6 separate regions of the Homo sapiens genome follow, and all the other regions are linked to region 1. The links are contacts of gene promoters, found by promoter capture Hi-C in blood cells and fetal thymus (Javierre and others, 2016). All regions are on one chromosome and are shown on one strand. Each heading gives the region's core, a stretch centred on a gene start or on the middle of the fragment in contact. The rest is flanking DNA. Distances are from core to core; before and after follow the strand shown.

Region 1 (4,054 bases), core at 959-3,458:
ATTGGCCAAACTTAGCTATTGTTACCAGTGCATACTCTTAAGTTAGGTTTTCAGTCTCATCTGACTATTAAGCTAGGTTACAGTTCATTCACAAGGATTCAAATATAGAAGTAAGGAGTCCTTCTCAGGCCGTATTTAGTTTGCTTTAACAGTACCAATACACAAGCCAGTCCCAGCCTACTCAATCTAAAGAACTGTAGCCAAAAACACACAGGTGAAGCTTCCTAGAACTTCTGTCGTCCGACCACCAGGACTTGACAGGGCAGAAAACTAAGACTGGGAATTTAAACGCAAAAACACAAAACAAGAAAGCAGTAGCCAGGCAGGGTGGATGCTGAAAGGAAGTCCAAGCATGTGGGGCTGAGAGGAGGCAGGAGAGTTGTCACATCAAGTGGAAAATACGCAAAATATTACAAACAAGGAGAATTGTGAAACTGCTGAGTGAACACTTCAGACCTTTGAACTCCAGTAACACTTCAGACTTTCGAACTCCAGTGACTCCAGTAACACTTCAGACCACTGAACTCCAGTAACCCCTCTTCCTTCCCCTTTAGTAGGAGGGGATTCAACCTTGCAGTTTCCCAAACAGGAGGTGTGAAGACTCACAGAGTCCCCAGAAAGCGCTCATTCAGGCCTCTTTAAAACACAGGTGAATTTGCCATTGTGTGGCCTCAAGCAACGTGAGACATTTTATTTCAAAACCCTAACCGGTCACATAATTAAAGGAACACAAGCTAAGCCGTAATAAAAGCAGAAACCAGTATACATAAACATTTTGGGGAAATTTCTTGTAATGACTGACATTTGCCACAGTTCGGAAACCAGATTTACAGTTTTTGCTTCAGACCTGACAGCTGAGTCGTGAGGACTTGGCCTTCAAAGAGAAGATATTTGCCCTAGAGCGCTCCCAAGTCCTGAGAAAGCACAGAGGGAGCGAAAGAGGTTTCAGCACTAGGTGCTGCTACCGAGTCTCAGGGACAACTCTCCCCTAAAAGAAAACAGAACCCCACTTCTCTAATTTTGTTTTTCCTCTTAACAGTGCAATTATTTTTAAAGGGAGTTGAGGAGGTGAGGGCACCTTGATTTTTGGAACTGGAGGCTCGGATGGCATTGTACAATCTCCCACCAAAATGTATCTATTCTGGACCAGTGAGTCTCAAACTTAGCCGAAAGGAATCATGCGGAGGGTGGGTTAAACAGCATACTGTGGAAGCCCAACGCCGGCGTTTCAGATTCAGTAGGTCTGGGATGGGCTGGAAATTTGCAATGCTAACAATTTTAAGTGCGGCGGCTGCTGCCACCGGTCCAGGGCACACTTAAGAGAATCACTACTGTAACGGGCACTGTGTTAAGTGCTGGGAGTGAATAAAATGGGTCCCGCCCGCAGGAAACCTAGTGGACATCCAGGTGAAATGAAGTCCCCGTGAGTTCCACGGTAGACTAAGGGGTGAGTCTACCCGAGGGTGCTTTCGCGCTCTGGCTGGGTGAGTGGCAGAAAAAGCCACTGATCTCGGTCGAGCAAGACAGAAGATAGTGTGAGTCACGCTGAAATTTACTTCCCTGAGCTGGTGGGGAAACTGCAGTCCCCCTCCATTCAGGACCGATTAGGGGCCTCTTGCTGTGCTGGACATCGGACTCCCAGCTTCCTCTTCCCTTGAGTCCCGCAGCTTTTCCTTCCTTCCCCAAGGAACAAAACAACTGAGATGCAGGATGTAAACAAAAGCCAGGCTGGCGAAATCCGGCCGACGCGCCCTTGGAGCGCCCCCACCGGCGAGGGCATTTCCCCCGCCCAGCCCCGGCCTCCCGGCTGGACGCCCTAACGCTGTAGTCCCTTGGTCGCCCTCCCCGCGCCCACCAGCCGTGGTCAACGCCGGACGCGTCAGGGGCCCCGCTAGCCCGAGCCTCTGCCGGGGGCAGCTGCCCCCACGCACTTTCTCCTGCTGTGCGCAGGCGCCGCCGCTCCGCGCTCTTTGCCGGCTGGGAAGAGAAGGGTCGCGGACAACTCACCTATCGCCGGAGGAGGATTCCTGCCGCCTGCGGGCGCCACGGGCAGCCCGAGGCCGGAGCGGCAGTGCCAGGCAGTCAGCAGGCAGCAGACGAGTGCGCGCACCAGCGCCATGGAGGGCCGCGGGGCTGACCTGGAGGTTCGGGCTGTCCCGCAGCTCCACTCGGACCGTCAGGCCTGAGGGTGAGGCGGAGACAGAAGACGGCTGCGGGTGTAGACGTCCGACTGATCACGTGCAAAGGCAGATTCCGCAGCGAGTCAGTTCGCCTGACCTTCAGCTGCTGTTTAGCGATGATCTGTTCTCGTATTTCTTAGCGTCAGTGTTTGGCCTAGGAAGGAATGTACTTGTAGAAGCTCAAATTCCGACTCGTGTATCAGTGGTGCAGTTGATGTCAAACACTGACATACTGGTGCTTGGGGATAGAGAAAGACATTCAATTTAGTAAAAGCCAGAAGGAGGGAGAACAAGATCTCTCAAATCCGTGTGTAAAAAGGAAAAAGCAGGGAGTTTTTATTCTGCTAGAGAATAAGAGAGGGGGATTTTCAAAGAATCCAGGGGAAAAGTCTGTTTCTTCAGTCTCAGATAACACCTTTGAGCAATTAGACGTCCAGGCATCCGCAGCTGGTTGCAAAGCCCTTGGAGGTATTCATCCCTTCTGCAAACATTTTTGTGACCCTGAAGTTAACCTCTTTGTTCTTGACGAGGAAGCAGTACCTCAGCAGTTTATAATTATATTGTGGAAACAAGGAGAATATTGGGCAAAAAGCGAGTGGTTAAAATGTGCAAGCAAGCAGGAGCCTGATCAGAATTTTCATTATTTCAGTCACTAAAAAATGCTGGGGTGCTGAAATCTCAACGATCCCGGTTCCATTCTTGGGCCAACCTACCCCAGCTTTAATGGGTAGGGCTCCTCAGTAGAGGTGATGCAGAGAGCCCTGAAGTATCATGATTTGAAGGAAATCAGCAAAAGTTATGGATACTGCAGTGGATCTCGAATTGAAGTCTCTGAACTGGGAACATTAGCACCACCTGGGAACTCTAGTTAGAAATGCAAATTCCCAGGCACCACCCTAGACCTGTTGAGTCAGAAACCTGCTGGAGCCCAGCAGTTTGTGTTTTCACAAGCATTTCAGGTCATGTTAAAGTGATTGTGATGTTTGAAAACCAATGCTCAAAGATACGACGTTTTGTTTTTTGTTTTTTTTAAACTGCCGGGAAGAGAAGGGTCTTAGAATTAGAACATGTTCTGAAATCATGCTTTATGCATTCCAGAGATGCATGGAAATCATAAGTAGAGGTGGTTGATTTGATGCTTCCACGGAACTTTTTTGAATATACTTCTGGCAAAGAAGTAAGTCTATACAAAGAAGTAAGCAAAGATAAGTCTGGCAAAGAAGTAAGTCTATACAAAGAAGTAAGCAAAGATAAGTCTGGCAAAGAAGCCAGAATCCCGAAACTGTGCTGGATCCTGTATTCTGTGTTCCTTCTCTCACCGTTTATGAGGATGCTGATCTCTTGGAGATGACAAGCTAATAATTTAAATTTATAGGGCGTGGAATTCCTTTGCAGAAGAAAATGCTTTCCATAATTACTAACCTCAAAAAAGATGTTGTAGAGTGTATTTCTTTCCCAGCATAGAAAGCTTTGTTTTGTATCCCATGTAATTTAATGGGAGTGTGTGTCATGAAACGGGCTTTGAAGTGGGAAGCAAGGTGCTTCCATTTTCTGTTTTGTAAACCAAAAATAAAATTTGAAGGCCCCCCACAACCATCTGAATGGACGACCATCTGTATGGACTCTTTCCCCAGTCAGGGCACTCTAAAATTTAACCTGAAAGACTGGTTCAGGCCATGAAAAAGGGGATGGGGGGGTTGGACATGCGTAATTAACATCAACATAGACCATAAGTCTGATAAGAAACATTTAAGATCTGTTTTCTCTAAAGCCTGCTACGTGGAGGCTTCGTCTGTGTGACAAAATCTGGGTCTAACAACCCCTTATCATAACCCAGACATCCTTTCTATTGATAATAACTTTTTCAATCAACC
Region 2 (4,054 bases), core at 753-3,252, 400 kb after region 1:
AAATTCTATCCAATCGATTTTGCAAAACTAATTGGAATCAACGGTGCAACCAGTATTAGCTTTTAAAGATTTTTTTTTCAAGGATAGGATGATTAAATCCAAAGGTGAACTGCATAGAGGTTTCCACCTATATTGCTATCTGGACAAAGTGTTGATTTTCTTCAATTTTGGAATGACTTAGGGGACCTTAGGCAAATCACCTAACATTTTCTAGTCCTCGTTCCTTATATATAAGATGTGAGTGAAAAATATCTGCTATGCTCACTTCACAGGGTGGTTTTGAAGATCAAAGAAATTGTCTCTTCCTCCAGTCCACTTTCACAATCTTTATGGATCTCTTTCTAAAACACAAATCTGAAAAGGTCACTTCCTGACTTAAAACTATTCAGTGACTTCCCATAATTTCCAGAATAAATTCAAACCCCTTAAGGGGCATAAAAGGCCTTCTCTGATCTGATGCCGCCTACCATTTCAGTTATTGTCTACCATTGTTTACAACGCCTTTCCCTTAGCCACACCTAATTGCTTGTAGTTACCTTACTGGTCATATTCTTTTATACCTCTATGTATTTCCATAGGCTGTTGTCTCTGCCTGCAGAGCCCTTCTTCACCATTTTCCCCTAAATTCTTCTTCAACCTTCCAGGTCAAGTACAATCCCGTACAAACATAAGTTCTTTTGTGAAATCTTCCTTGGTAACATTTATTATAGCACTTACTACATCATATTATAATTATTTATTTACATGTATTTTTCATTCTAGACTATGAAACTGCTTCAACATAAATACTATGTCATATGTACATTCACTTATTTACAATGACATTCACAATGCATGATATATGTTAAAATATCAATAAATATTTGTTGAATTAATAAATGAATACATGAACAGGTAAGTGCTAATCATCTGTTTATTCTTGCATGACCCCCAAATCTGGGTTAGTTGTTCCTCCCATGTGCTCCTATAGCTCTGGAACTTGACCTTCATAGTTTTTACCACACTATTGCTGCTCATTTACTTCTCAACAACCCTTACTAGACTAGCAGATTGTGCTTGCATTGTTCACTCTTGTATCCTGAGCACTCAACACAGTGCTAATAATAACGTAGGAACTGCTCAATAAATATTTGTTGAATTAATAATTTTAGCTTTTGAAATCCTTTGGATAAAATGTGCTCTACCTAATAATAAGGAAACCCCTTACAATTTATTCTCAGTCAGTAGAAACCTTTTTGTTTACAAGAGAAGAAAATGAAGAGAAGAGCTTAAGGATAGCTCAACTGAGAAGCATGCGAATGAGGAGCTGTTAGTAACTGAACAAATATTAGAATCCTGGAAATGCCAGATGTTAACAGAATGCTATAGAGGCCCAGGTTTGAGGTCACTTATATCTTCAAAACAAATGACAGTGGCAAAATGCTTAAGGACTCTTGAATAGGCTTTTGAGTAAGTGAAGAGCTAGAAGACTGTGAAAGTTAATTTTTAAAATTTTTCAAGAAGTTTTCTTCTTCTAAGGCTACAACCTGGGTGCAAAAGACACTAGCCAGAGGAGCTTTTTACATGGGAAATGTGTTAGTACTGCTTGTACCAGACTCGGGCTGGAACTGCTCTACATTAAAACTCCAATCTATGCCAGATTTGCTAGAATCCAATCAGTCATCCAACTAGGGTGACAAACTAGTTCAGGTTAGCACAATACATTTCCAGTTTTAATACTGAAAGTCCTATGTCCCAGGAAATCCCTCAGCCCCAGGCAAACCAGATTGTTTGATCACCCTAACTCAGCCTCTTCCAGTTATTTATGTTGGACAGGAAGCAGAGGCTCTTTAAGCAAAGCAAAATATTGTATAGCGACAATGTAGATACGGGATCTGGAAACTCTAATGCAGCTTTGGCCTTTCTGGAAGCAGTGCGGAGGCTCTCTTTCACAGGCACTCCAACAGCTAGCTGATAAATAGAAGGAATTGATGTACCCCTGCAACTCAAGGTCCCCGTGAAGGCTCAGACACACACAGAGAGATGTTGATAAGAAAGAAAATTCAAGGCTAAAAACCGTCAAGGACTGGAAACATTAGAAAAATGGAGTGGAATAGAGAAATGGCCTGCAATATAAGCCTTCCATTATTTCTACTAGAACAAAACCATGTTAGGGTTTAAGTTTCTACTTCACTGGGACTTGTCTTGTTCCAAGAGGAGGTGGTGTCCAAGATAGATGGAATGTGTTAGGAGTTTATCTTTCGGAAAATGTGGTTTAAGTCATCATTTTATTCAAATCATTTGATAACTAAGACCTTTGAGGTCCTCAAAGATGAAATGAGCTGAATTATAGGAATTGGATACAGAAATACACTCATGCTTTGAATACTAAACTGGAGAAATTGGGTTCAGTGAGGAGGCAGTCACTGTCACAGCTGTGTGTCATGATCTGAGAGGTGTCTGTGAAGAGCTGGTAACCACTGGGACATTTCTAACCTCTTTAGAGTTTAGTCATCTACTATGAGCAGCATCCACTTACCAGCCATAAAGAGAGATGACTTTTCTATTCTGTGCTCACAGCGTGGTGCAGTACAGTAGAGATGAAACAAAGGCTCAACCTGCTGCTTTCTGAGAAGGCATCCTAGGATAGAACTGAATGAATTCTGATCTTTCGGAGAAAAGTCTGCCATTGTCTGAATCAAGTAGTTGCTAGGACCTCTTAAAGATTTGCGGTTGGGCGCAGTGGCTCATGCCTGTAATCCTAACACTTTGGGGAGGCCAAGGCGGGCGGATCACAAGGACAGGATCAAGACCGTCCTGGCTAACACGGTGAAACCTTATCTCTACTAAAAATACAAAAAATTAGCCAGGCGTGTGGGACACGCCTGTGCTCTCAGCTACTCCGGAGGCTGAGGCAGGAGAATTGCTTGAACCCAGGAGGCGGAGTTTGCAGTGAGCTGAGACTGCGCCACTGCACTCCAGCCTGGATGACAAAGCAAGACTCTGACTCAAAAAAAAAAAAAAATTTGCTACTTAATGGCAGAACTCTTGATTTATAAAGCCCTTATATATGGTAATTGTTATATTTGCTATAATTTACTTTAAAATACTACAATTTAAAGAGGAGTATATAGTGTGGTAGTTAATTGTAATCTGCACCCTAGGGGCAGTCAAGTTAACAGTTGAAAAACCCGAATTAGGAAGGCATTCTCCAGGGGTGGTTAGTTAGCATATGAAAGACTAATCTAATGCTTTTCCTATGAAGATTTAATCTTAATGTTTATTTTTTTAATTAATACCAAAGTTTTGTTAACTAGGGCAATGGATGTGGAAATGATTTCTTTCTTGGTAAAATTAATGAAGTTCAGGATATGTGTATTGACTAAAAATAGTGTATTGTCTTTCCCCATTTTTGACTAACCTGAGAATGGTGTTATCTTGAACTGGTAGCCTATTCTCTAGGTGCCCTAACCTTAGGATCCTCATAGACCCAGTGTTCAGGGGATTTAGGTGGCCTGAAGCAAGAGTAAAAATAGAGGCTTACATGCCATATTTCAGAAGTTTTAAAGATTGCAAATCAAGCTAACAAACTTAAATAAAATATGTTCTAGTCTCCTAGCTTGAAAAATATATCTTCATAATAATAAAATTAAAAGATATGTGTCAAATCATAGTTTTCAGCTGGGCATGGTGGTGCATGCCTGTAGTTCCAGCTACCCAGGAGGCTAAGGCAGGATTGCTTGAGCCCAGGAGTTTAAGGCTGCAATGAGCTGTGATTGCGCCAGTGCACTGCAGGCTGGGTAACAGAGTGAGACCCTGTCTCAAAAAACAAAAAAACAAACAAACAAACAATGTATGTATAGTTTTCATAAGACACTAGGTTGGCAAAATATTTTTAAATTAACTTTGATCCACGAAGATCAAATGTAATTATTGTTTGGTGTTCTGTTGATGGAGGAATGATGTTTTTGATGATTAATAAAATAGAGATATATAATTTGTAGATCATTGTATATTTATTCCATAAAATTATTTTTTCTTGCCTATATTTCAGTTAGATTGTCACCATCAAGGT
Region 3 (4,054 bases), core at 759-3,258, 380 kb after region 1:
GTACTGGATGTACAATTACAAACTATAGAAAAAGTCTTCCAGGGAGCTCATATTCTAGCAGGAACTTAAACTTTTTTTTTTTTTTAAGCTAACTTAGGAAAAAAATACAGGGAAACAAGTAAAACTTTATTATCCTAATTCATCCCAACAAGGAACAGTTGTGCATTTCTGTACTTTCAACAGCTGAAATAAAAATCTTGGCCAAGCACACTCCAGGTCAATACCCTAATTAGCTCACGTTCACAATAGCTCACCTTCCTTTTAATGTTCTCCAACAAGTCATCCTGTCCTTGTTTGAAGTAAGGATGCTGAAATTCTACAGGACCATCTCTTTCTTGCTTTACAATTCCAGAGTCGATATGTACTACTTTACGGAAACCATCTGAAAAATATTCAAAATTCAAATGACTAAAATAAACAAGTCAAAATTTGGTGGTGCTTGTATGGAATAATTTTCCTTTACCACCCTAATGGGAAAAAAAATGGCTTCATCAGTAGCTGATAATGGTACTCCAATAAACTGCTGTCCATACTCACACATATTCAGTTGCCTCACAAAGCTTGCCATATTATTGTGCTTGAAATATTTGGGAAGAATTTCTTTTGCAAATCGTTGCTCATCCAAGACCAGAAAACTTTGGCCATTCTGCAAGGGGAAAAAAAAAAAGAAAAAGTAAATTAGTTAAGTTCCTATGACACATGGTGATATATTTATACATCCCACAACTGTCTTGAGTAGTCCAGTCCCTCCTTGATGTCTTCAGACCAACATTCTATTCTTGACAACAGGAACAAGAAACAAAATTGCAATTAAGCAACAAATTGCAACTAAGCTTTTTGATGTCAACCTCAAAAGTTTAGGAACATATCTCAAACCAAATGCCACATCACACTCTATGGTGAAATATTAGAACTTCCATTAAACCAGCAATGAGAAAATGAAATACAATTATGTAGACAGCATAATTAACATTGTTTTAAAACTAGTGCAATTAAGACCAAAATAAAAAAAAAAGATTTTGAGAGGAAGTACCATTTTATAATTATTTGCAGTAGACATAGTAGACATAATTGTATCTTTGTAAAATCAATTTAAAAACCCTTTAAGAATTCAGTAAGATACGTGGTTACTAAATTAATATTAAAAGTCACTAGTGTTTTTCTCTACAAAAAACAAACACCTGGAAACACTACAAAAATAAAGTAATCAAAGTAGCATGGTACTGGCATACTGACAAACATATAGATCAATGAAATAAAATAGACAGCCCAGAAATAAACCCTGCCAAAGGATTTTTGACAACAGTGTCAAGACCATTCAATAAAAAAAGGACAGTCTTTTCAACAAATGGTGCTGGGAAAACTGGATATCTACATACAAAAAAATGAAGTTAGACCCTTATCTGATAACATATATAAAAACTAACTTCAAATCAATCAAAGACCTAAACACAAGAGCTAAAGAAACTTTTAACAATAGTAGAGCATGACATTAGACTTGGCAATGATTTATTAAATGTAACACTAAAAGTACAGGCAACAAAAGCAAAAATAGACAAATGGAACTACATCAAATCTAAAGACTACCAACAGACTGAAAAGGCAACCCTCAGAATGGAAAGAAGAAAGTGCAAATCATATACCTCAGGAGTTAATATCCAGAACATAGACATAACTCTTAAAATTCAAAAAGAACAAAAGACAAAAAAAACCCAAACAACCCGATAAAAAACGAGCAAGGATGTGAGTAGATATTTCTTCAAAGAAGATATACAAACTTCCAATAAGCAAATAAAAAGATGGTCAGTAACACAAATCATTAGGGAAATGAAAATCAAAACTAAAACAATATACCACTGCACACCCATTAGAATGGCTATTATCAAAAACGCATAAAACAAGTGTTCACAAGGAAGTGGAGAAATTGGAATATTGGTGCATTATTGGTGGGAATGTTAAAATAGTGTGGTTGCTGTGGAAAACACTATGATAGTTCCTTTAAAAATTAAACAAAGAACATATAATCCAGCAATTCCATTCCTAGGTATATACTCAAAAAAAAAAAAAAAACCCAAAAACAACAACAAAAAAACAAAACAAAAAAAACCATAAAAGCAACGACTTGAACAGATATTTGTACCCCATGTTCACAGTAGCATTTTTCACAACAGGCAAAAGGTAGAAGTAACTTCAGTATCCACCAACACATGGTGAAATATATATGGATAAAGTATGGTATATACATGCAATGAAATATTATTTCACCTAAAAAAGGAAATTCTCACAAGCTACAACATGAAAAGAACTTTGAAAACATTATGCTGTGAAATAAGCCAGTCACAAAAGAACAAATACTGTACAATTCCCCTTATATGAAGTTTCCATAATAGCCAATTTCAGAGACAAAAAGTAGAATGGTGGTTGTCAGGGGCTGCGGGGAGGAAGGAGTTAGAAGTTATTGTGAAATGGGTATAAAGTTTCAGTGTGGAAAGATAAAAATTGTTCTGGAGATGGATGGTGGTAATGGTTGCCTAACAATGTGAATCTAACTTAATGCACTTAAAATGGTTAATTTTATGTTATGTATATTTTACCACAATTAAAAAAATTAGAAACTAAAATGGAATAAAATATCCCAATAATAATAGAAAAATGTTAAGTATCTAAAAATAAAATTTAAAAATATACAGGAACTTTAAAAATATTAAAACTATAGAAATACAAAAGGAAGACAAATGCAGTATTGTAAAGGTGTCAATTCTCTCTAAATTAACCAATACATTAAATTCTGTCTTAATTAAAAAAATGATTTGTGGAGTAAAGATGAATTGATGCTATCATAACCAAATGTTAGGTACATAAGTTCATTTGTAAAAATAATTACATAACAACAGGAAAGAAAATATTGAGAACAATGGGGAGGAGTATTTTAACCCTACCCAATACAGATTATAAAATTATAGTGTTAACAATTTAGTACAAAAGAAGAAGTGATTACATAGATGAATGGACTGACTAGAGAGGACAGATGAACCAGCAAATCTATCTGAGAATTTACCAGGTAGTAAGTCAAGATGGCATTCAAATGGGGGGATAATCAGGAAAGAAAAGGATTAAGAAATTTTCCATTTGGGAAGAAAAATAAGAGCTCGATGTCATCTTACTCTTTACAAGCAAGCTTTTGGAGACATGACATAATAAACCCAGAAGACATATAGATAAAATATAAATTTATCCATGGAGACTGCTAGCTTCCTACTCTATCTCTACTCTCCTCTACTTTCTTCCTAACAGAAACACAATTTTGATGAAAAACACATTGTGAAATTTAGAAGAGACCCAGACTCATAAATGAAGAATGTAGAGCAAAACAAATAATGATTTTCCCTTATTAGATTAAATTTACAACCCTTGACAATAACCAGTATTGGCAACTAGGTAATTATCAAAATTAAAATGCTTAAAATGCATACGTCTTTTCCTATCTTAAAAGAACTTTCCCTCTTATACCTTCTTTTTCAATCTACCCATCTGTCTTTTCCTTAACTGCAAAATTTAACAAGCAGGTATTTTAAACCCCCCTTCTCCAATTCAGGACCATCCACTTACTCTCACTGAAAACTGCTTTTGGTTCCCTCACTCGACTGAAACCAGATTTCTAAAATGTCAAATATCAAATTCAATGCCCTCTTTTCAGTCCTGATCTTCCTACACCTCTCTGTGGCATTTCATTTGGTACAACTAACAATCTCCTCCTTAAATGTTCGACTCTCTGGGCTTTGATGCTAAACACTGTTGAGTCTCTTATCTCTTATATTTCCTTTCAATTTTCTTCCACCTATCAAATAAGAGGTAGCTGTATTTTCCAGGTTTTTATCCTTAATCGTGGCACCATTCATATTCTTTCCTTAGAATTCATCCACAGTAGGGTATCTTATTATTGACTTTATTTTATAATAAACACATCTACAGCTCTGTCCCTGATCATCTCAAATTACACACTTCAATTTAAAATGTTAACATTTTTTACACTATGTTCTTTAACTCAGTATGT
Region 4 (4,054 bases), core at 1,119-3,618, 350 kb after region 1:
TATTTTACTTGGTTTTTGTCCACTCATTTTGTTTTTATTCCTTTCTTAAAAAGGCACTTAAGAATAGATTTCCCCTCTAGATATCACTTAAACTGCATCTCATAAATCTGGGCATGTACTTTTCTTTTTTTTTAATCATTAACATCAGTATTTCCAACATTTTTTGTTTGGCCCCAAAGTTTAGCAGTTCTTTTCCAATTTCCAGAAATGTTAAAGAAGCTCAAAATGGTTCTTCTGGTTTCTAGCTTATTTGCATTGTGGTTAGTCTGTTTGATACCAATTCTTAGAAGTTTGTTGACTTACTTTATGACCTACTATGCTATATTGATTCTCGAAAAATACTTCATGTGTGCTTGAAATGAAGGTTTAGGCTCTAAGTCTTGAACGTGACCTTTTATATACGTTAAGTCATAGTGAATGTCATTTTGGTATTTTTCCAGTCGCAGACCATTCTTCTCACATCTGAAGCTCTAGATTCCTGATTATGCCATCTGTAATCAAACACATACTGACACAACCTAAAAGAACATTTAGCTGTCTGTAATTCGCAAGCTTTTATGGTCCTAGTTCTATCTCCCTAAGACAAAAAAAAAAAAAAAGCTGGAAGTGGGATAATGAGGGGTACCCCCTACACTGTCTTCACACTGTGGTACTAGTTTCCCAGATAGTACAGGCAGACTTCCTCTGGTACACACAAGCTAGATTGTTTTTTAAAGAAACCACATCTTTCATTCCTATGTGTGTTCTTTCCTAAAACTGATCTGGCTGAAACGGTGCCTCAGGCCTCAGGACAAGGCATCCTTTTTTTTTTTTTTTTTTGAGACAGAGTCTGGCTCTGTCACCCAGGCTGGAGTGCAGTGGCGCGATCTCAGCTCACTGCAAGCAAGCTCCGTCTCCCGGGTTCACGCCATTCTCCTGCCTCAGCCTCTGGAGTAGCTGGGACTACAGGCGCTCGCCACCATGCCCGGCTATTTTTTGTATTTTTTAGTAGAGACGGGGTTTCACCGTGTTAGCCAGGATGGTCTTGATCTCCTGACCTCGTGATCCACCCACCTCGGTCTCCCAAAGTGCTGGGATTACAGGCGTCAGCCACTGCACCCGGCCGGCATCATCCTTTTTAACAATTATTCTGGCCAGGTGCGGTGGCTCATGCTTGTAATCCCCGCACTTTGGGAGGCCGAGGAGGGCAGATCACCTGAGGTCAGGAGTTTGAGACCAGCCTGGCCAACATGGTGAAACCCCGTCTCTACTAAAAATACAAAAAATTAGCCAGGCGTAGTGGTGCACGCATGTAATCCCAGCTACTCCAGAGGCTGAGGCAGGAGAATCGCTTGAACCCGGGAGGCAGAAGTTGCAGTGAGCTGAGATTGCGCCATTGTAATCCCTGTCTGGGCAACAGAGCAAAACTCTATCTCAAACAAAACAGAACAAAAATTATTCTTTTCATACTTGACAAAACAAAGATATATCTCTTATCCATTCTGAATCTTACCAATGCACTTTGGAAAAAAATCTCCAGACAATTGGTAAAGGGACATTTAAAAATATTGGTGAGAAAGAGATGACACTGAGTTAAAAAAAACTTTTTTTTGTGATTTAGCTGGTTTCTAATATTTTGCTTTCAACAAAATTGAAAGATGATCCAACTGAGTCATCAATTGATAGAATTCTGGTACATAATTCTAAAGGTATTAAAAAATTAACAGTACTATACAAAACTGCTTTTTCATCTACTTGTCATTTTGTACTATAAACAAAGATTCTCAGGATTTTAACATCAGTGAAAACAAAAATAGGAATAAAATTGGTACTAACTTTTATTATGAAAACTCAGGAAGAGCTGTTTATTCCACTATAAGATATATTTTTGGTAAAACTTTTTGTTTAACAGATCATCAAAATTAGACTCTAATTGTAGTAAACATTACAAGCTATAACAGATCAACCCCCAAAAACTCAGGTAGAAAAAAGGTTTGTTTCCCCTCACCTGAAGTGTAAAATGGTTATCCAGGACTGATAGGTGGCCTTCCTCTAAGCAGTAATTCAAGAAGCCATTTTTTTCCTTCTTGATTGTATATTTGAAAGCTACATACAACTCTGCATCAAGCCAGTGGAGGGGTAAATGGCATGGGAGGAATGCATGGGGGAAGTTACACCACCAGAACTGGAAGTGCTACACATCACTTCTCCTGTTTTACTGATTAAAACTCAGTTACATGGCTACCCCATCTGCAGTGGTGGAAATAATCTAGCCACATGATAGGAAAAGGAAACGGTCTGGCAATCAGTTAAGTCTCTACCATATATATTTATATGGTTTTAATCCACTGTGTAGTTATACAGTATAAAATTGGAGGGAAAGTTTTTTAATGCCTAGAATCTTACAGTTATGGGAAACAATCTCAAATTTAGATGTAAAGAGGTGTCACGAAAGATCATCATTGTCTAACTTTCAAACATAAAAAAGCAGGATAAAATTCTTTGGAGGAAGCCGGGCACGGTGGCTCATGCGTGTAATCCCGGCACTTTGGGAGGCCGAGGCAGGCAGATCACCTGAGGTCAGGAGTTCAAGACCGGCCTGGCCAACATGGTGAAACCCCATCTCTACTAAAAATAAAAAATTAGCCAGGTGTGTTGGCACATGACTGTAGTCCCAGCTACTCAAGAGGCTGAGGCAAGAGAATCGCTTGAATCTGGGAGGCGGAGGTTGCAGTGAGCCGAGATCACGCCACTGCTCTCTACCCTGGGCGACAGAGTGAAAGTCTGTCTCAAAAAAAAAATTGTTTGGAGGAAGTAGAGTGGATGATAGAGATCAAATCACTATGGCATTCAAATTCCTTTAGGTAAATGTTAAAGAAACATATAACAATTATGTTTTAAAACAGCAATATTAACTATATCCTAAATTCCTTCCAACTATTTAAACTTAAGATGAAAAATCTTAAATGTCAACTTTAAAAGTACCAGGGTCATAATCAAGTTTTTCAAAATTATTTTTTAAGTGCTTCTAGAGTTCCAAAATGCCCCCAAGAAGAAGAAACTTGACTGTATTTCACAATGAGAAAGGAATGAAGAAAAGTCTTTTAAGGTTTTCTCCTCTCAGTTTCTAAACTCTTATCACCCTTAGAAACATAACCTCTTCAGCTCACGCAGAGCACTGTTGTAGGGTCTTGAATTAATTCACCAAGATCCCACCATCAGAGCCAAGTATTTTAGGATCTAACTAAAACTCTCCTAAGGGAATTTTCCTATTCTTCTGTGCTAGCCCTTACTTTGAATCTTTACATCATAATAAAAGAAATTCTAAGACACTGACAGAATATGGCCAATAGGAAAACCTGCCTTGAAACTCATTAAATAGCCCTATACAATATTAATTGTACTGCTTTCAGCCCTTTGCCCAAAGGTGAAATTCTTCACATGATAAAGTGCCCTGGCCTTGCATTAAGTCTCCATAATTCTCTTGGGCAACTGTTTCAAAGGAAAGAGGTGATTTGACTATTTCTCTTATCTTCTCTCCAGACATCCAGTGATAATATTCTTACACTATTTGGGACAATGAGAGGCATAATTCTCTCACTTTTTTATTAGAAACATAGAAAGCAACCCAGTATAATTTTTAAACAAAGAACTTTAAAATACATTAAATTTAGAGATTATATTTCTCCCTTGTTGCAATATACAATATATTTTCGAGATGAGGCACAAATATCTTGGTATGATTCATATTGAGAATAATGAACCACAGACAGTTTAAAGCTACTGCTTCCTATGAGAAGAAAAAATTGTTTCATGTGAGTGTCACCTCTAAAGAAGACACATAACAGACACTAGTACTCAACATTCATTGTATTTATTTTACTAAACAGTATGGTTCAAAAAAACACAAACCGGAAAACCTTTATTTAAAACTAGTCCAACTAACTGGATGGGGCTCACTCCATCCCATCCCACCCCCGATCTTTCTATATATATGGAGCTGGAACCCTATCAGACAGCGAGCATTCACGTACACTTTGTCTTTCCTGTTGAACATGAATAAACGTCTTTGAAC
Region 5 (4,054 bases), core at 1-2,500, 340 kb after region 1:
GCAGATTAACTGGGAACATAACCCAAGAACCAGGAAAGAATCCAAAAGAACCTGAATAGCTAAAATAAATGTTCCAAAGCATATTACTGAAAGCATGTGCACTTTATAGCCTAATTTTCTAGCCTACAATGGGTTAAAAGCAAAATATTAAAGGGAAGAGGATTGCTAGGAATAGATAAACACACAGTGATACAATTCATAAACAGCAGCAAATAAAAAATATAAAAAGCAACTCGGATGTTTTATTCAAGTGCAAAGGATGCTTTTATGTGCATCAATAACAACTAAAGGAATTCCTATAGTAATGTAATTAATGATTATTTATAATGATGATGTTGAGTCCTTTGGGGTTATACTTGAAAACAGATATCCCAATTCAAATGCTTACAGGGCCAAACCAGGTAACAAAAATGAGGGAACAGGAGGACAGAGTTTAAGTGCATAAGCTTTGTGCAAATAGACTACAATGAATTGGAGAGTATGAATGCCCCATCTAAAGTGCATTACTACTGCTCAGCTCCATTTATTAGTTGCCTTGTGGGAATGTGAACTTAGTATTGCTTGATTTTTCTAATGTTTTTCAAAAGAAGTCATAAATCTGGATTTTCATGCTAAATGACTGAGTTTCAGCTAAAAAAATTTTAAATTGGAGTGCAAGCCAAATCCAGTGTGTCTGCTGGCCTAATATTCCTCTCACACAACTAATTTGTGGTGTTTTATCTCAGTGGTTCAAGTTAAAATAATTTGGTGCTCAAAGAAATAAGCTTTAGTCATTTGGAAATTTCACTTACATTGAATACCTTGTTCTCTAAATGCAAAGTCTAATGCAAGGGTTTCTGTGTCTTTTGTTCCCTGCTGTATCCCCAGGGCCTGGAATGCAGGCATTCAATAAATATTTGTTGGATGGATCCCCTGTCAGCGAGGCAAATCTACATAAATACTTGTATATTAGGCACATATTAGCATAAAGGCTAAACAACTTGTGTATGTTGAAATTTACATAGAAAAAGCATAGGTTGACTTATTAAATAATGACTTACCCTTGCATAATATGTATCTTTTAAGATTTTAGTTCATGAGGAAAAGCATCATTGTTGTGAGGGCTTAACATTAATAATGAAAATAATTTTCTTAATGCCCTTGTTTACAACTGAGTGATAATGGTTCTTTAAAAACCTTAAGTAATATTCCTCTTATAGTTATTTTTCTTTATTTTGAAAATAATGGCTAACATGTAAACATAGTTTGTAAACTCTAATATAGATATTAGTATTAAATCCTATTAGTTTCTTACTAACTTGCCATCCTTGCAAATACATAATAGCTATGTGTAAAAACTAGAATTCTTCAGCAATAAAGGTCAGAATTAATTTTCTTTCCTGCTTTTATAGCCTTTATAATGCTGACAATGTTAGTTGCTTAAAATATATTTTTTGACAAAATGACAGATTGTTTATAAAACAGGTCCCATTTCTAATTGCTAATAATTTCTGATAAAAAGCTAATTATCCAATTATATTTCTTTCACAGCCTTGTTATCAGCTACAGCTCTGAATTATCTGCTGTCTTTAGTTGCTATCGTCCTGTTCTTTGTCTACTACACTCATCCAGCCAGTTGTTCAGAAAACAAGGCGTTCATCAGTGTCAACATGCTCCTCTGCGTTGGTGCTTCTGTAATGTCTATACTGCCAAAAATCCAAGTATGCCCTTTAAAGCATTAGTTTTTATGAAGCTTATACCTTTTTAAGTTTTCAAAAATCTAGAATGATGTCAGACTATTTACCTGTGTTGCTATATATATATATATATATTTTTTTTTTTTTTTTTTTGTAGGAATCACAACCAAGATCTGGTTTGTTACAGTCTTCAGTAATTACAGTCTACACAATGTATTTGACATGGTCAGCTATGACCAATGAACCAGGTGTGTTTTATTTATATTACATGTTCCTAAAGGTTCTGCAGTTGTTGTTTTTCCAGAAATTGTCTTTTTGTGAGATTAAATTACTTAAAAATTAGGCTTCTAGAGGAATAAAGTACAAAGTTTTGATCTTTGATGTATTATTTATTTCACTTAGTTTCTTCCATCACTAACAAAATTATAAGAAGGTTACATGTATACCTAAGAGAAACTGTGAGTTCAGTTTCAGAGCACCACAATGAAACAAGCATCACAGTAAAGCATGATTTTTTGGTTTCCCAGTGCATATAAAACTTTTGTTTATCTTACACTAGTCTGTTGTGTGCCATAGCATTATGTCTAGAAAAACAATGTACATTCCTTAATTTGAAAGTACTTTATTTCCAAAAAATGCTAACAGTCATCTGAGCCTTCATCAAGTTGTAATCTTTTTGCTGGTAGGAGGTCTTGCCTCAATGTTGACGGCTGCTGACCGAACAGGGTGTTGGTTGCTGCAGGTTGGCATGGCTGTTTTAGTATCTTTAAACTAAGACCACAATGAAGTTTGCCCATTGATTGACTCCTCCTTTCACAAAATATTTCTCTGTAGCATATGATGCTGTTTGATAGCATTTGACCCAGAGTAGAATTTCCTTCCAAATTGGAGTCAATCCTCTTAAACCTGCTCCTGGTTCATTAAGTAAGTTTATGTAATATTCTAACTCCTTTGCTGTCATTTCAATAATATTCATAGCATCTTCATCAGGAGTAAATTCCATCTCAAAAAACTACTTTGTTCATCCATAAGAAGCAACACCTCATCATTCAGGCTTGATAATGAAATTGCAGCAATTCAGTCACATCTTCAGGTTCCACTTTTTAGTTCTCTTGCTCTTTCCACCGTATCTGTAGCTACTTCCTCCACTAAAGTCTTGAAATCCTCAGTCATCTATGAGGGTTAGAATCAACTTCTTTCAAACTCCTGTTAATGTTGATATTTTGACATTTTTTCCCATGAATCATGAATGTTCTTAATAGCATCTAGAATGGTGAATCTTTTCCAGAAGGTTTTCAGTTTACTTTGTCCACCCAGATCTATCAGAGGAATTACTCTATGGCAGCTATAGCCTTACAAAATATATTTCTTAAATAATAAGATTTAAACGTTGAAATTACTCCTTTTTCCATGGGCTGCAGAATAAATACTGTGTTAGCAGACATGAAAATATTAATCTCCCTGTACATCTCTATCAGAGCTTTTGGGTGACCCAGGTGCATCGTCATTGAGTAGTAATATTTTGAAAGGATCTTTTAGCAGTAAGTCCCAACAATGGGCTTAAAATATTCCGTAACCCATACTTTCAACAGATGTGCTGTCATCTAGGCTTTTTTCTATTCATAGAGAGGCTGAATAGACTTAATATAATTCTTAAGGGCCCTAGGATTTTTGGAATGGTAAAGAACATTGGCTTTCTCTTAAAATCATTGTCTGCATTAGTCCCTAACAAGAGAATCAGCCTGTCCTTTTAAGCTTTGAAGCCAGGCATTGACTGACTTCTCTATAGCTATGAAAGTCCTAGATTATATCTTCTTACAATAGAAGTCTATGTTGTCTTTATTGAAAATCTGTTGTTTGGTTTGGCTGCTTTCTTTTTTCTTATTTTTATTTTTTTGAGATGGAGTTTCACTCTTGTTGCACAGGCTGGAGTGCAATGGCACAATCCCCGTTCACTGCAACTTCTGTCTCCTTGGTAAGCCATTCTCCTGCCTCAGCCTCCTGAATAGCTGGGATTACAGGCCTGCGCCACCACACCCAGCTAATTTTGTATTTTTAGTAGAGATTGGGTTTCACCATGTTAGCCAGGCTGTTCTCGAACTCCTGACCTCAGGTGATCCACCCGCCTCAGCCTCCCAAAGTGCTGAACTTACAGGCGTGAGCAACCATGCCTGACCAGTGTAGCTACTTTCATTAATTTTGTTGGCTAGATTTTTAGGATGACTTGCTGTAGCTTCTGCATCAGCACTTACTGGTTCACCTTATACTTTTATGTTACGGAGACAGTTTCTTTCATTAAACCTCAACAACCAACCCCATCTAGTTTCAAACTTTTCTTCTACAGCTTCCTTCTCTCTCTCAATCTTAATAGACTTGAA
Region 6 (4,054 bases), core at 921-3,420, 300 kb after region 1:
AAAGAATGTCTCTTAAGTCCATTACTCTGGTCTAGGAATTAGTGGAAAAGCAATATAAATATATATCTGGAAACATTACTGAGGCTATCGCTGGTCCCATATTGTTCCCTGAGTGCTTAATGTTATCAGTGATAAAGAGCCCGAAGTAACCATAGGTCGTAGATCTAAAAGGCACACGTTCCCTAAGAAGCTCATGACTTCCCTATAACCTGAATTCTACTTGCTTTTCCTCTGCTCAGTTTTTGTCCCATGAACACTACCCACGAACAACCAGAGATTCTCTCAATATGCTTACAATCAATTTTTCTTAAGCCATAACTCCTCCTTCTGTGTTTAGCATGAATACATAAATGTATTTCTCTCTCTAAAATCAGTATCCTTTCAACTGACATGTTCTCATACCTCTCCCTCACTGTTCTGGTGGCCCTCTGCTGCCCCCTCTTGGTTCTAGGCTACCCTCTCAAGCGCTGAGATGTGTGGCTTAAGCCTCTGAATAAAACCTCCAAGTGTTTTTGAAATATCTGCGTAACTAATCCACAGTTGGTGAGTCTTAGCTTTTAGTAATGTAGTGGAATTACAAAGGGCTTTCAGTACTCATAATTCTAACATATAACTAAAGAAAATTTGCTGACTGTAAAAACAACATATTTATTTTTACCGAGTAGCTTTAGAAATTCAGCTCAAATCTTTCTAGATTAACCTTAGTTTTCTAGATAAAAACAAGGTACAGAAATAATGAATGTTCCCAATAATGCAGTGATTCTTGATATTTTTGAGTCATAAATGGCTATGAAATCAGATCAAAACTATAACTCAGAGGAGTGTGTATTCAAAGGCTATGCACCAGGACACTGAAATGTGCTTCCACAACCTATTTTCAAGAAATGACTTGTTGCACCAGTAGTGAGGAGTGCTATCTGCAGACATCTTTCAGCTGTTCACTTCTTCAGGAAGACTTGGTTTGCCCAAGGCCACACGTCCCTTCTAGAGGCCTACGTTAATGACTAATTTTTACAGTAGGTAGCTAGCCAGGCATGAGCGGGGGAGGAGAGGGCTCCCCCAACTCCAACAGGAATGTCAGGTGACCATCAGGTGATGGTCAGGCAGTTGTCACACTGCCTCTCTAAAATAATAATAGATGATTCCCAAAAAGATCTCAGGAATTGGGTGAGTGAGCTCAAGCATGCACATTAAGAGGCAAAATGGTGGAGTTTAACTGGTATATGACCTTCCAGAAGCATTCCACTGGTAAAGAGAAGAATGCCTCAAGTGAGCATGCGTATAACTCCAGTAACACACTGTGCATGAGAACAGGCAGCTCCAAGTGCAGAATAAAGAGATAAGGGATGCAAGACCATGGAAGTATGTCAAGATATAAAACCCCAAGTCAAAAGGTCAAACCCCACACTTGTCCTTCAAGTGGCCTGCTTGGGCCTCTTCCTAGTGTACTTTTCTTCCCGCTGTAAAGCTTTTTAATAAACTTTCACTCCTGCTCTAAAACTTGTCTCAGTCTCTTCTTCTCCTTTATGCCCCTCAAATTTTTTCTTCTGAGGAGGCAGGAACTGAGGTTGCTGGAGACCAGTATAGATTCACTGCCACTAACATAATCACTGATGGGTGATCTTAGCCCCATTCAGGCAACTCTAAAGGGTCATTCTAGTTCTAGAGCTTCCCTATGGATTCAGCTGAGGCTAAAGCTGGGCTGTATCACAGCACAACTTCTTCCTCTGCCTACTTGTATTAGGCAATTTTTGCTAGCTATAAAGAAATAGCTGAGACTGAGGAATTTATAAATAAAAGAGGTTGAATTGGCTTATGGTTCTGCAGGCTGTACACGAAACATAGTGCTGTCATCTTCTGCTGAGGCACTCAGGAAGCTTACACTCATGGTGGAAGACAAAGGGTAGCCAATATGCCACATGATGAGAATGAGAGCAAGAAAGAGAGAAGGGAGAGGTCCCAGATTCAAAACAACCAGATCTCTGTGTGAACTGAAAGGAAACTCACTCATCACCGAGAGGATGGTGCTAAACCACTCATGAGGGACCTTTCTCCATGATCCAATCACCTCCCGCCAGTCCCCACCTCCAACATTTGGAATCATATTTCAACATAAGATTTGGAAGAGGTAAACATCCAAACCATAATACTACTACTGTTTTCTTTCCCTCCCTGCCAGTTGTATTGATCTCTTTGGTAAGGGCACACTTTAATAAACATCCTCACGCTAAACTTCATCTCAGAGCCTCCTTCCTGAAGAAGCCAACATGTGACAACTACAAACATAACTATATAAAGCAGCACCTTTTCTTTCTCCTGGAAATTATTCAAAAGCTACAAGAAGATGCTTTTATAAGTTTGAAAAACATTTTTGGAGGACTTAGACACAATTTGAATGACTCTATAAATCAGCATTTTCCCTTTTTCTTGGAAATTATTCAAAAGCTACAAGAAGAAGCTTTCATAAGTTTGCAAACTATTTTTGAAGAACTTGGATGCATATTTAACTCCCAGACTCCATTTTATATCAAACACTATCAAAAGCACATGACATTTTTTTGTATACACAGAAAGGGCAGTGAAAACAAGAATCCCTGGTGATAAATCTCAAGAGCAGGGATCCACTGAAAAATAGATCTCAAAAAGCACTTGCAAAATATACTTCCTGAAAGTGTGGGTATACTGTGAAGCCAAAAAGTAATATTCCTTTTTTGTGACCGTTAGTACAAAGACTGAATGGATTGAGTTGTCATGTCTTTCTTCTTAAGAAGGCCTGGGGCTATAAAAAGAATTATACAGAAAAATCATATTTATAAGAAGTAACATGACTCTGTAACAGGAAAGGAGAAAGCTTTTGCTCTATGAAAATTACTTAGCCAGAAACTTTATCTTTCCTTCATATCCCAAAAGAAACCTCTTACAAATGGCCAGTCCAGGAAAGCCTAACTCATTCAATGATAAGTAGTATTTTAAAAGGAGAGAATCCATTTTTAAATTACTGTTTTGGCCAGGCTCATGCCTGTAATCACAGCACTTTGGGAGGCTGAGGCAGCTGAATCACTTGAGGTGAGGAGTTCAAGACCAGCCTTGCCAGCATGGCAAAACCCCATTTCTATTAAAAATACAAAAATTAGCTGGGTGTGGTGGCAGGTGCCTGTAATCCCAGCTACTCAGGAGGCTGAGGCAGGAGAATAAATTGAACCTGGGAGGCAGAGGTTGAAGTGAGCTGAGACTGTACCACTGCACTCCAGCCTGGGCAACAAAGCAAGACTTTTCTCAAAAATAATAATAATAACAATAATAATAATAATAATAATAATAAATGAAATACTATTTTTAAAAGTCTCTTATTTTTCCCCCTTCTTTAAAAAAATCTATTAATTCTTTTTACTTCCTGTCCTTTGAGGCAGCTAACACAAGTAGAAACTTTAGGACCAAGGAAACTATTGGGGCTATTGAGGTGGGCAGGGCCTAGAAGGCAACTTTCTGGGTCAGGAGTTTGATTATATACAGGAGGAAAAAGCAAATAAGTGAATAAATTGAGAATAATGAGAACCAAGTTTCTCACTATTGGATAAATGAGTTACAAATATGAAAAGCCAATGGCCAGAATGATCCCTGTGGTATTATGTTTCAATTGGAATTATCACTGGGAACACACAATTTCTTAGATAGACAGAGATAGACAGATAGATACAGAAGTAGATACAAATGTTTGTGTATGTGAGTGACAGACATTTTCTACCTCTGCCTGGTGGGAAAGCCTAGAAGCAATTAATCCCAGGAGCAGTGAGCAGACGTAGTGCTCCAATGTTGGTTTCTAAGTATCATTCTTCTCTAACGTAGAACAAGAGCTCCTTGGAGAAATGAAAGAATAATATAAACTGGTTTGAGAACAGCCTGGGCAACATGGCAAAACCCCATTTCTACAAAAAAAAAATACAAAAATTAGTTGGCCATAATGGTGTGCCTGTTGTCCCAACTACTCTGGAATCTGAGGCAGGAGAATCACCCGAGTCCAGGGAGGGAGTGGCTGCAGTGAACCATGATGGTA

The links. Contacts are between HindIII fragments. The CHiCAGO score rates a contact against its expected background, and 5 or more counts as called.
Region 2: a fragment that was not itself captured here is called in contact with the fragment with the promoter of SMPDL3A in region 1 in 1 of 17 cell types (monocytes); the score reaches 8.0 in monocytes.
Region 3: a fragment that was not itself captured here is called in contact with the fragment with the promoter of SMPDL3A in region 1 in 1 of 17 cell types (monocytes); the score reaches 5.8 in monocytes.
Region 4: a contact is called between a fragment that was not itself captured here and the fragment with the promoter of SMPDL3A in region 1, in 1 of 17 cell types (monocytes). The highest score is 5.2, in monocytes.
Region 5: a contact is called between a fragment that was not itself captured here and the fragment with the promoter of SMPDL3A in region 1, in 2 of 17 cell types (M0 macrophages and monocytes). The highest score is 6.6, in M0 macrophages.
Region 6: a contact is called between a fragment that was not itself captured here and the fragment with the promoter of SMPDL3A in region 1, in 2 of 17 cell types (monocytes and M2 macrophages). The highest score is 6.8, in monocytes.

What each region holds. Positions count from the first base shown.
Region 1 is chr6:122,787,412-122,791,465 of GRCh38, reverse strand. SMPDL3A (sphingomyelin phosphodiesterase acid like 3A) reads right to left here and starts at 2,208. Exons shown (of 8, transcript NM_006714.5): 1 at 2,008-2,208. The coding sequence starts at 2,119. RefSeq lists a cis regulatory region at 208, enhancers at 124-293, 1,397-1,896, 1,897-2,398 and silencers at 488-782, 1,888-2,182. The HindIII fragment of the contact is 3,428 bases long and covers 223-3,650 here.
Region 2 is chr6:122,392,133-122,396,186 of GRCh38, reverse strand. No RefSeq gene overlaps it. Among named protein-coding and RNA genes, the nearest start is that of HSF2, 5.5 kb to the left of the region's middle. RefSeq lists an enhancer at 2,336-2,954. The HindIII fragment of the contact is 4,618 bases long and covers 1-4,054 here.
Region 3 is chr6:122,408,965-122,413,018 of GRCh38, reverse strand. HSF2 (heat shock transcription factor 2) reads right to left here. Exons shown (of 13, transcript NM_004506.4): 2 at 538-646; 3 at 255-382. Among named protein-coding and RNA genes, the nearest start is that of HSF2, 11 kb to the right of the region's middle. The HindIII fragment of the contact is 2,345 bases long and covers 836-3,180 here.
Region 4 is chr6:122,432,741-122,436,794 of GRCh38, reverse strand. HSF2 (heat shock transcription factor 2) reads right to left here. Exons shown (of 13, transcript NM_004506.4): 13 at 3,676-4,054. Among named protein-coding and RNA genes, the nearest start is that of HSF2, 35 kb to the right of the region's middle. The HindIII fragment of the contact is 3,628 bases long and covers 555-4,054 here.
Region 5 is chr6:122,449,534-122,453,587 of GRCh38, reverse strand. It overlaps SERINC1 (serine incorporator 1), which reads left to right. Exons shown (of 10, transcript NM_020755.4): 6 at 1,531-1,700; 7 at 1,834-1,924. Among named protein-coding and RNA genes, the nearest start is that of SERINC1, 20 kb to the left of the region's middle. The HindIII fragment of the contact is 968 bases long and covers 767-1,734 here.
Region 6 is chr6:122,488,491-122,492,544 of GRCh38, reverse strand. It overlaps a transcript of PKIB not described here. Among named protein-coding and RNA genes, the nearest start is that of SERINC1, 19 kb to the right of the region's middle. The HindIII fragment of the contact is 581 bases long and covers 1,880-2,460 here.